Linked DNA regions of Homo sapiens: region 2 is linked to region 1. The links are contacts of gene promoters, found by promoter capture Hi-C in blood cells and fetal thymus (Javierre and others, 2016). All regions are on one chromosome and are shown on one strand. The core of a region is centred on a gene start or on the middle of the fragment in contact, and the rest is flanking DNA. Distances in the headings are between cores, read along the strand shown. Region 1 holds the start of CALHM6 (calcium homeostasis modulator family member 6). Region 2 overlaps HDAC2 (histone deacetylase 2).

Region 1 (5,968 bases), core at 1-2,500:
TTTTATTCAGATATTCTCTTGACGGCAAATTAGATGCAAGGAGCCATTCTAGATTTTCTTAGGGTACTGTATATCTGGAGAAAAGTCACCGATTTTTCCCTCACCCCAGCGGCCCTGAGAAAGCTCGGCCTCTCGGCTCCTCCCAAACGCCCCCAGCGCCAGCGGCAGACCTGCGACTGAGCCTTCAGATCCTTCAGGAGGTCCTGCACGTCCGACGCCTTGGCCTGGTTGCACGGCACCAGCGGCAGCTCCGCGGCGCAGCTGCGGTTGCGGCCGAGGCACAGGCGCTGCGCGAAGGCCGCGCTCCCGGTGGCCGCGCACTCGTAAAAGGCGCCCCCGAGCAGCGCCACGGCCACCCAGGTGAGGGGCGCGAGCGCGGCGGCCGCGCTGATTTGCGTGCACACCAGGGAGCCGCGCAGCGCCGATCCGCAACTCGCGCGGGCGCTGGAGCAGCATCCGGTGAGCAGGCGCCACGTGCGTGCGCTCAGCACGTAGCCCAGGAGGAAGAGCGCGAGCGCCGGCACCAGCAAGAAGACCAGGCCGTAGGGCAGGTTCCAGGCGGCGCTGCACGGGCACTGGAATGCCACGGCGGAGAAGATGCGCTCCCCGCCCGCCGTCAGCAGGGTCACCAGGCCGTAGCCCAAGGCGCTGTGGTGCTTGACGTGCAGGTCCAGCACCGCCCGAAACTTCTCCATGAGCCTCGTCCCCCGGGGCGTCGCGCACAGGCCCAGATCCTTCTGCCTCTTCGTTGTCCTGCTTGTCAAATGGTTTTGGTGGGATGGGGACCGGGGCTTTCCACTCTGCGAGAAGCAGCCTTTTTTTTTTTTTTTTTAAAGGGAAGAGGGCTTCTCAGACCTTCCTAAAGTTTCACTTTCTCATTTCAGCCACACCACCTCTGGTTAACAGAACCAGGCAAGCAAACACCCCCAGGACCTTGACTTCTCTGGCACCCACCCCATTCCAAAGGCAGAGGCACCAGTTATCTTCCTCCCCCAATTCAGGAACTCTGACAGAAGGTTGACCTTGTTCCTTTATTACCACCAATCTGACAACGAACCAGGAAACTAACCTTCTTGACCCACGGCCGCCAGTTGGAAAAACTGGGAAATACCAGATTTTCCTCTATTGCAGCCACCCTAGTTACTAAGCCAGATCACAGTAAAACCAAATAATTATCAAAAAACTGATTACTTACGGGAAACATTATTCAAGGACAAATTTCTGGTTCCTCTTCCATAAGCTAAATCAGCAAAGTCCAGCTCAAGTTCTGGTACTTCTATGATGGGCGGCACCCTTTCCATCTCCCTACCGGACAGAGCCACCAGCCTAGTTCACACTGACTCTTCTCTCCTCTGCCTGATCTCCTTCAGGACATTAGACCAAATATACTGTATTGATTTACTCGTCAATACAATGTTCTTTTCTTTCAGATATGTCATAACACTGTCAATGCCTGGAGGAGAGTAAAATTCTGACTCTGACCACCAAGCTGATCTGCACAGAAGGGGATACATGATTATTCAAAGAATGCTAGTTGAACCCAAAATTTCAAACTGCAGCTACATCTATCTAATGTTGTTTCCTCCACCTTCAGTTTTCTCAAGCAGCGTTGTTCTGACACAAACACTGTAACCACTTTTGTGATATTGAGCCTTACTCTGTGTGACTCCAGACTGAGCTGAGGTGTGCTTGAAAGAACATGGGCTTTGAAGTCAAGTGCATCTTGTCTGTGGTGTGTTTAACAAGTATGCCCCTCTGAGACACAGCATCCTTATTTGTAAAAGAAGGATAATAGTGCCCACTTTTCAAGATTACTGACATGAGTAGATTGAGTAGCATATGTAAAGTGCCTTTACATATAGGATATGTCTGTTAAATGAATGATCAGTGTGAGAGTTTTCCCCTTAAAATGCAATTTGGGGAATAGACAACAAATAATTACATTGTACATAACCTAAGAATCTTGATGAATACTGAATTTTGAATTTTAAACGAGGATCAATTCAGTGGATAGTATTAAGTGACTCAATGACTCTGCTACCTTAAGAGAATTGGTGTACACCTTAGCTGTCTGCTTCACCACAAGGAGAGTATCTGGATATGGAGCTTGGGTGGGCAGTTCACAATGAAATGGTTCTTATTGGTGCCCATCCACCAGGCTTGCCTTATTTTATCTGGAAAGAATAGGTAGCCCATGGAACCAAGTGAATTTTTAGAGAATGGACAAGAAATGTATTATTCTTTTCTTAGTCCAACTTGCCTTCTTAACTACTCCCTCTCCAACACCACCAGCAGGGTGCCTAGCGTAGTGCCAAAAGCTGTCATTCCATAGTGATGTGGTAAATAGACATCTTTTTTCTATGTGTTTAGGGGCCAGCCCCAGATGAGGGTCTTCATGGTCATGCAGGAAAGTTGGGGCCCTCTTCTCTGAGATTAGACCAGATACTGCTAGGCTTCCTGTCAACTTGCAGCAAAGTTGCGTGTTTGAAGCGAATCACTTCTGCTCTGACTGTTATCTTTGTAATTTGTCATCTCCCAAGATAAATTTCTTCCCCTGTGCCTTGAGTAACTCTCCTCTTACTGCTGGACTCTTCTTCACCTCTACCATAATACTCTAAGATGTGTCCTCTCTCGTCCACCCTTTCCCATATTCCATCATGCAGAAACATCACTATATCCACAACCTTTGTGCAGATGGCTTTATCCAAATCTCCCCTAACCGAAACCTAATAAAAATGCATCCTTCTGTCTTCTTGAGTGAGATTAATTTATTCTCCCACATCTCTCAAACCAAGAGGGATGGCTGGCATTTTCCTGGTTACCTGCTGATAGCCATACCAGGGTTTTACCACTGTGCTATAATAGTTTATCATCCACTGAGGCTCAATCTAATCAGCACCATCTCCTCCTTCACCTCATTCCTATGGTCTGTTTTCATTCCCTTCATTTTTTAAGACTCTAATGAAGTCCATCACCTTCTCTTCCCTGGCTTCTGTTATTTAGTCAAGGATTTGTTTGAAATATGTTTACTTACAGAAACTTTTATCTATCAGCCCCCTTCCCCAACTAGATTAATTCATTTGTTAACCAGTTATTAATTAGTTCATTTGTTCATTCAGTCATTCATTTAAATGTTTAATAAGTACTCAGAATATGTCAAGTACCTATCAAAAGTGCCTGGTATTGCTGGATACAACAAGGAAGAAGACACAGGTATCCTGCCGTCTTTGAACTTACAGTAGAGATGATATAGGAAATGGAGAGGAGGGGTCCTAAAGATTACGCACAGGATAAATTGGAGTTAGAGAGTGTCCTGAAAGAGCCTCTGTGAGAAACTGACATTTAATCTGAATGAGTCTGGAGTACAAAGGAGCTTGGTTAGAAAGAAGGCTAGAGTGATGGGAGCATTGAGAATGACAGGCAAGTTGGCACATCATGAGGCCAAAGCTGCAAGTGGAAGGTCAGGTTTAGGTGCTTCACAGACCAGAATATGTAGTCTGCAATTCTGCCTCTGAAACTTTCACAGACTGAGCTGCATCCTGACATATTGTCTTGTCAGCTTGTGTCTCTAAACACCACCTCCTGGGTTTGCTACTTCTGTGCTCTCCCAAACCCAACTCTCCCAGATGCAATGATCATTCAGAACTTAGTACAGGTTTCTATAATTGAGAGTCCAGGTTTTGCCTGCCAGCCTGAATGTTTCCCCAGCACTTGGTCTTGAGTCTAGTACCCTGCCATCCACTCCCACCACCACTGGATTGACTGGTTCTAGCTCTGGGTCTATTGAAGATTCCCAGCCCTCCATACCCAGGTCTGTTCTGAGAGGATATTGCTCAGAAGTTCAGCCCTTAGTGGAAATTGACTAACACCCTAATGGTGTGGAGAGGTAGACTAAATAATATTTTAAATGTCTTTACACTTTTGAAAGCCTGTGATTTGCTTCAGCTGTTAAGAAATGAGTAGTAGAATGTCATCGGTAAAGCCTGAGTCCTGTCCTCTTGCTCTCCTCCCTGGACAGTATGAGCTTCACCACTTGCTCCACCTTCTCCACCAACTACCATTCCCTGGGCTCTGTCCAGACACCCAGCTTCATCGCCCAGCTGGTCAGCAGTGCAGCCAGTGTCTATGCAGGCACCCAGGACTCTGGTTCCCGGATCTCTGTGTCCCGCTCCACCAGCTTCTGGGGCGGCATGGGATCCGGGGGCCTGGCTGCAGGGATGGCCAGGGGTCTGGCAGGGATAGCAGGCATCCAGAATGAGAAGGAGACCATGCAAAGCCTGAACGACTGTCTGGCCTCCTACCTGGACAGAGTGAGGAGCCTGGAGACCGAGAACTGGAAGCTGGAGAGCAAAATCCGGGAGCACCTGGGGAAGAAGGGACCCCAGGCCAGAGACTGGAGCCATTACTTCATGACCATCAGGACCTGAGGGCTCAGATCTTCACAAATACTGTGGACAATGCCCGCATCGTTCTGCAAATCAATGCCTGTTTTGCTGCTGATGACTTCAGTGTCAAGTATGAGACAGAGCTGCCCATGTGCCAGTCTGTGGAGAGCGACATCCATGGGGTCCACAAGGTCATTGATGACACCAATGTCACTCGGCTGCAGCTGGAGACAGAGATCGAGGCTCTCAAAAAGCAGCTGCTCTTCATGAAGAACCATGAAGAGGAAGTAAAGGCCTACAAGCCCAGACTGCCAGCTCTGGGCTGACCGTGGAGGTAGATGCCCCCAAATCTCAGGACCTTGCCAAGATCATGGAAGACATCTGGGCCCAATATGACGAGCTGGCTCGGAAGAACTAAGAGGAGCTGGACAAGTACTGGTCTCAGCAGATTGAGGTGAGCACCACAGTGGCCACCACTCAGTCCACCGAGGTTGGAGCTGCTGAGATGACGCTCACAGAGCTGAGATGTACAATCCATTCCTTGGAGATCGACCTGGACTCCATGAGAAATCTGAAGGCCGCTTGGAAAGCAGCCTGAGGGAGGTGGAGGCCTGCTATGCCCTGCAGATGGAACAGCTCAATGGGATCCTGCTGCACCTGGAGTCAGAGCTGGCACAGACCCAGGCAGAGGGACAGCACTAGGCCCAGCAGTACGAGGCCCTGCTGGACATCAAAGTCAAGCTGGAGACTCAGATTGCCACCTACCAATGCCTGCTGGAAGATGGCGAGGACTTCAATCTTGGTGATGCCCTGGACAACAGCAACTCCATGCAAACCATCCAAAAGACACCACCCGCCCAATAGTGGATGGCGAAGTGGTGTCTGAGACCAATGACACCAAAGTTCTGAGACATTAAGCCAGCAGAAGTAGGGGACCCTTCGAGGAGCAGGAGGCCAATAAAAAGTTCAGAGGTCAAAAATAAAAAATAAAAAGAAATGAGTAGTAGAGTCTCACATTAAGCACAGTGTAAAGCCAATGGTTATGGGTTCCCTTTGGTTTCCTTTAACTGTAGTACTTTTTCAGCACTATCATTTTCAATGTCAGGAATGGGTTTCAGAAACCACAGAACATTTCTTGGAAAAGGAACTTCTTGAAAGGAAATGCACATACACACTGTGAATCTGAAAGTGTCTTGCAATTGTCTTCATGTGTGCTAGTTCTCAAACATTGTTCTCTGCGGCTCTCATAAGAATACAGACTAATGGCATGACCCTGCTTGGAATATGACTGCTGGATTCTTATACAACATTAATCTTGGCCCCAAGACCCTCCAAAAAGAGTAAAATCAAATTAATATTCAAATATCTTAGGTAACATATGCAAGAAGAAATGCCAGATGCCAAATTAAAAAGTTAGTTTACAAAATCTGACACTCCTAGTCTTAAAGGGAATATCTTTCTGAATGTTAAAATTTGTGGATATATTGCTCATGTTAGATAACATATTTGAAAATCTGGAACATGCTGTTGTCTTCAGATATTTTAAACGTTTATAAAAGTTTTTTCCAATGGAAGTGTAAAGC
Region 2 (6,241 bases), core at 1,293-3,792, 2.5 Mb after region 1:
GCTACCAAACAAACAAAACTCCTTAACAAAAACTTTAAATGCTTCTGTTGACAAGTCCTTAAAGGAAAACACTTGGGATTGGAGAAGGCATCTCTTAGGGAATGTTAATAAATTCAAACTTGGAAGAATTCAAATCAAGTCTAAGGATTTTTTTGTACTGGTTATTAAGCCTTATTCCTCTGTATTTCAGTAGCAGTCTGCTTATTGTTACTTGTTCATTAAGCCAGCTTTGGGTTCAGACATATCAAATAGGCTTAAAGTTCCTACTGTGTGCCAAATAGACAAAAGATTGCTCAAGTCCTAAGAAGGAAATAAAAGACTGCAGGTATAAAGTAAGAGAGGGGGCCGGGTGCAGTGGCTCACGCCTATAATCCCAGCACTTTGGGAAGCCGAGGCGGGCAGATCACAAGGTCAGGAGTTTGAGACCAGCCTGGCCAACATGGCGAAACCCTCTCTCTACTAAAAATACAAAAAAAAGTTAGCTGGGCATGGTGACGGGTGCCTGTAATCCCAGCTACTTGGGAGGCTGAGGCAGGAGAATCGCTTGAACCCGGGAGGCAGAGAGGTTGCAGTGAGCCGAGATCATGCCATTGCACTCCAGCCTGGGTGGGTGGCAAGAGCAAGACTCTGTCTCAAAAAAAAAAACAAAAAAAGTAAAAGAGAGGGGACCTTTGATAGTGTAATCAGAAAAGGGAAGACCTGAAGGAAGAGAATGGGCCAGCCTTAAAAAGAGTTTACTACATAAGATATTACAAATAGCAAAGCCAGATAGTTATTAATAGAACTTGGTGCACTTAATGGGAAGGAAGACAAGGAAAATGTGGAGTCCCATGTTAGGCAGTAAAAAGTGGGACTGCACAAAACTGTGTAGTAAGAAATTTGACTTTACCCAGAGGTGGAAAGCCATTGAAAGTTTCTCAAATAGAATGCATTCTCTCAAAATAATTGGTAAGGAGTTGTGGAATATAGGCTGGAAGCAAGAATTGAACACATATTGGTCCATATAAAATGTAATGGTTGCATTTTAGATAGAAATAGACATATTTAAGAGAGATTTGGGCCTCAAACCAATAGAACTTTTTGATGGATTAGAAATGGAGTTGGAGCTGAGGAATGGTGTTAGAGAATGAAGGATGACTCCTAAGTTTCTGGATTGAGCAGTTAGGTGGTATGTGGTACTACTCACTAAGATTGGGAATACAAATAAAGAGCTCTGTTTTGAACATCTTATATTTGAGATCCTTATTGAATTCAAGTGAAAAGACTGAGAAGAGAGTTAACCTCTGTGAGTTTATAATCCAGAGAGGAGAGTCTAGACATAGAAATTTGGGATTTCTCAGCTTATATCAGGTGAAGTATTGAGACTGAAAAAGATACAGCATAGACAGACGACTGGTCCCAGGACTTAACTCCCGAGAGAAGAGAATTTAGGGCAGAACTATTGTTCACTGATGAACCCAAACCCTTAGAACAGTACCTGCTTGGCACATGGTAGGCTCTTGATTTATTAAATGAATGGCTGAACTGAAAACCCTTGATGTTTAAAGGTTGGTGGAGGAGTGGCCTTGGGGTACAAGTAAAATCCCAAGAAAATGGTATTATGGAAGCCAAGGCTCCGAATGTCTCAAGGAGGAATAACCTCCTTGAAATATGTATTAAAGATGTGTTAATATGTATAAAAAATGGATAGTGGGCTAAGTAGTCTGGAAGATGAAAATAATAAACTTTTTTCTTTTCTCTTGTTTTTTTTTTCCTGAGTCTCTTTTTGCAGTCAACTTATCTTTGTGGCTAAAGGTACATTTCACAGTTCTGAAATCCAAAATGACCTGAAAATTGAAAAAAATTTTGGTAACTCATTTGGAATCAAAATCTTAACCTGAATCAATGTGAGGCTATTTATGATCTTTATTCCTCTGTGAATACCGTGAATATTCACACTTTTTTGCTGTAGAAATATTAATGTTTGATTATATCATGCCACCCAAACTCTAGGCTATTACATAATATATGGCAGGTGTACCATATTATCTCTACAAAATCTGAAAAAGTGTAAAATTTGAAACATATCTAATTTGAAGGAATATGGATAAGAGATTGTGGACCTTAGTAGACACTTCCATTCTGTTAGTTTCTTGAAGAGTGAGCAATTTGTAAAATTTTGCAGATAAATAATTCTTTACAGTAATTTCTTTGCATTGACAATTAAAGTTTGTTGTGTTCAAGGAACCACCTTGAGCTGATTTTTCTGAATGTTTATTTCATTGGTAAAGTATTTTTATGTACAGGTTGAATATCCTTTATCTGAATTCTTGGGACCAGAAGTATTTCAGATTTGGGGAGGTTTTGCAATATTTGTAATTATTTACCAGTTAGCATCCCTAATTCGAAAATCAAAAATTTGACATGCTCCAGTTAGCATTTCCTTGACTATTAAGTTGGTGCTCAAAACAGTTCAGATTTTGGAACATTTTGGATATCAAATTTTTGGATTAGGGATAATCTGTATTTTGATGCAAATCAGTAACATTTAAAATGCCCAAATTATTAATACATTACTGACCATTTAAATGATGAATAAAAATTGTAGGGTCTTAAAACTTCTTAGCCTTTTTATACTTTATGAAAAAGTGGGCTGGGCACAGTGGCTCACATCTGTAATCCCAGCACTTTGGGAGGCTGAGGCGGGCAGATCATCTGAGGTCAGGAGTTTGAGACAAGCCTGGCAAATATGGAGATACCCCGTCACTACTAAAAATACAAAAATTAGCCGGGTATGGTGGTGGGCGCTTGTAATCCCAGCTACTTGGGAGGCTGAGGCAGGAGAATTGCTTGAACCCCAGAGGTGGAGGTTGCAGTGAGCCAAGATCACATCACCGCACTCCAGCCTGGGTGACAAGAGCGAAACTCCATCTCAAAAAGAAAACAAAGTGGATGCCTACAAAGTAGCCATCTAGAGAATTGTGAGATACAGAATTAGTGGGAAAAAGTTGGAGATGGTTATTTTATAACGCCTTTATATTTTAGAAGAATTCTTTTTTTTTTTTTTTTTTGATACAGAGTCTCGCTCTGTCACCCAGGCTGGAGTGCAGTGGCACGATCTCGGCTCACTGCAACCTCCGCCTCCTGGGTTCAAGTGATTCTCCTGCCTCAGCCTCCTGAGCAGCTGGGACTACAGGCGCATGCCACCACACCTGGCTTTTTTTTTTGTATTTTTAGTAGAGACGGGGTTTCACAATGTTTGTCAGGAAGGTCTCGATCTCTTGACTTCGTGATCTGCCCGCCTCGGCCTCCCGAAGTACTGGGATTACGGGTGTGAGCCTCCACGCCCAGCTAGAAGAATTCTTGGTAAACCAAAAAATTATCTGTAGCTTGGCTGCCCTGTATACATGTATCATTTAGGTTCTTTGTGTATTCTTTGTGGGACTGGGGTCCCTAAATTTCAACAGAGAAACTTGTTGAAAGCTATGCGTATTCGTATACGATTTGAGGACCCTATTAGTAAAAAGTAAATTACTCTGATATATTAGGTACAGTTTCTTGTGTTCATTTTCTTTAAATTAACCAAGACCCTAAGCCTTTATTTAAAATATTTATATTTCATATTATGTCTTTTTTTCAGCCTTCACCCTGCCATTTCTAGTGAATCTGTAAGTGTCCTTGACATTCCCTGTTGTTATTACTTAAGAACATTAGCTGTGAGCTGCCCTGCCAGAGTTTGAATCTAGCTCCTCCACTTGCTGGCTATGTGACTTAGGCAATAATACCTGACTTGTCTGTTTCTCATCCTTCTTTACTATTATACAATAGGAATAATGTAATAATACCCACATCATAAGGTTATTGACAAGATTAAAAGATATGTGAAGTACTTAATAGTGCCTTCTAGTAAGCACTCAACAAGTGTTAATTACTGCTTTTTTTTTTTTTCAAACACACTTGCTCAGAAATTGCTACTGTAGTCTCCAATTATTGGGGCCTGGGGCTTTTCACTGGATTTTCAGTGTGCATCAAATAACTAGAGTATTTGATGTTATGATGTGGTAGATGTTAGAGACATTTCATTTGGGTAATTGTTACACAGAGGCAGATAGATGGAAGTTATTGTTTAGTTTGTGTCTTTTCTGTTTTAGGTGATATTGGAAATTATTATGGGCAGGGTCATCCCACGAAACCTCATAGAATCTGCATTTCTAGTGAAGACTAGACTTTCATTATTTTTACTTTAATGATTTCTTTAGTAGTGATAACTAAGAAATGCCTTCCCTTGTATTAATTTAATTACATGATGCTTTGTAATAACACTAGTGGGTTTTCCATATCTAAGAAATGATGAGACCAGGCTGCTTTCAAGGAACTATATATCCCTTGTATTGTCACCATGTAAGGTAGAGCTTTATGGTAGATTCTTTCTTAATAGGTAGTTTATTTTCTGCAATCATAGCCTCTTAATTATAATTGCAGAGGAATGTTGCAAAGGGCCATGGCCCTGCTTTGCTAAACTCTATATTGTTTCTTAGCCTTGTTGGCACCTGCATTAAAAAGGTGGCTTTCCCTTTAAAAGACTTTGTATATGAATTGTTTTCAGAAGAGAGCTGTGCTGAAAATGAAGTTAACTAAAATTAGAGGTGTGATACCAACAAAATCAAGTATTTATGTTATTAGAAGCATGGATTTTGTAAAAGCTGATTGTTTATCCCGTACTGTTATCAAATATGTAGGAGAGAGGACAAAAAAGTTTTTGGGGTTGTTTCCATTAAACAAACAAAAGGTGTATTTAGGGAGGACTTTGAAAGATTTAGTGGATAAATTGCATTTTTTATTCTAGCTTTTATTGTAATATATAAACCCGTGTTGAAATGATAGACTTCAAACCATTAAAATAGCTTGACTGTCCTGACCCTGTGGGGAATTAGTTCCAAGACTTCCACAGATAGCAAAATTCATGGGTGTTTAAGTTCCTTCAATAAACTGGTATAGTATTTGCATATAACCTATGTATATCTCCCCTTACACTTTAAGTCATCTCTAGATTACTCATAATACCTAATACAATGCAAATGCAGTGTAAATAGTTGTTACACTGTATGATTTAGGGGAAGATTACAAGGAAAAAAAGTCTCTACGTGTTTCCAGCAGACACCACCATCTATTTTTTAAAAATATTTTCAGTCTGCAGTTGATTGAATCCACAGATACAGAGGGTTGACTTTATATATTTGAGAGGCTTCTTGTTATTTACTATTATAGGAAACACTGGAGCTTTACCTAAAAGTATTAATTTTATTGAAATTTAGTTGATGAAAATCTGTGATTTTGTTATTTTCTCTTTTTTAAATCTTATGCATAAGTTTAAAGACATTGTGATATAAGATGCCGTTTAAAAAGACAGGCTAGGAATTACAACTTTTTAGTCATGAAGAATGAGACAGTATTTTTATTACCTTGAAAAATGTAATGCTGTGTCTTAGTGGAGCAAAACCTCATTTAGGACCTAAATTTCAGTTACCAAAACTTCCCTGATGGGCTTTAATATGGACACGGTATGTTTTAACATGCAAAACGCCAATTATGAGATTTCTGAAATGCCAGCAAATCATCCAAAAAGCAGTATTTGCTGAAAAAATTTTAAATCATACCAATAAAACTCAGAGAACTTAAAAGCATGTGAATTTGCCAGAGAATACAGAAAGCAGGCATCATTTCAAGGAACAGAAATTTTAAAAATTGGGGGTAGCTAAAAATCAGAAAAGCTTGCTTTCCTTAATCTACAAATAAATATAATGTGTAATAATGGAGTCTTCAGCTGGTAAAAGTGTGCGTAGCGTCTTAGTCATCTGATACAGTTTGAAAGTTGCAAAATAAATCTAAGTTGCTAAGGTTTTAAATAAATTTTGTTAAGTAGTAAATGCCTTCTAATGATAGACATACATAAATTCAAATAGTTCATGGAGGGTCTCTTGTCTGTATTGTTTAGTTTGTGTCTTTTCTATTTTAGGTGATATTGGAAATTATTATTATGGACAGGGTCATCCCATGAAGCCTCATAGAATCCGCATGACCCATAACTTGCTGTTAAATTATGGCTTATACAGAAAAATGGAAATATATGTGAGTATTCCTTTTAATACATATTCAGCACTGATCTTTTTTATTTTTTTTTAGCTACTGTGAAACTTTGTCTATTATTCCCCTTTTGAGGGCATTTAGCAGATGAAAAGATCTGGAAGAAAACAAACTTCTT

Evidence for each region. Contacts are between HindIII fragments. The CHiCAGO score rates a contact against its expected background, and 5 or more counts as called.
Region 2: a contact is called between a fragment that was not itself captured here and the fragment with the promoter of CALHM6 in region 1, in 1 of 17 cell types (neutrophils). The highest score is 6.4, in neutrophils.

The regions. Positions count from the first base shown.
Region 1 is chr6:116,456,657-116,462,624 of GRCh38, reverse strand. It overlaps CALHM6 (calcium homeostasis modulator family member 6), which reads right to left and starts at 1,250. Exons shown (of 3, transcript NM_001010919.3): 1 at 1,196-1,250; 2 at 171-753. The coding sequence starts at 695. CALHM6-AS1 (CALHM6 antisense RNA 1) reads left to right here. Exons shown (of 2, transcript NR_174951.1): 2 at 1,431-2,147. It also overlaps the pseudogene KRT18P22. RefSeq lists a silencer at 185-264 and enhancers at 645-724, 735-844. The HindIII fragment of the contact is 9,761 bases long and covers 1-5,968 here.
Region 2 is chr6:113,959,773-113,966,013 of GRCh38, reverse strand. It overlaps HDAC2 (histone deacetylase 2), which reads left to right. Exons shown (of 14, transcript NM_001527.4): 2 at 5,996-6,108. Among named protein-coding and RNA genes, the nearest start is that of HDAC2-AS2, 6.8 kb to the left of the region's middle. The HindIII fragment of the contact is 6,420 bases long and covers 1-5,752 here.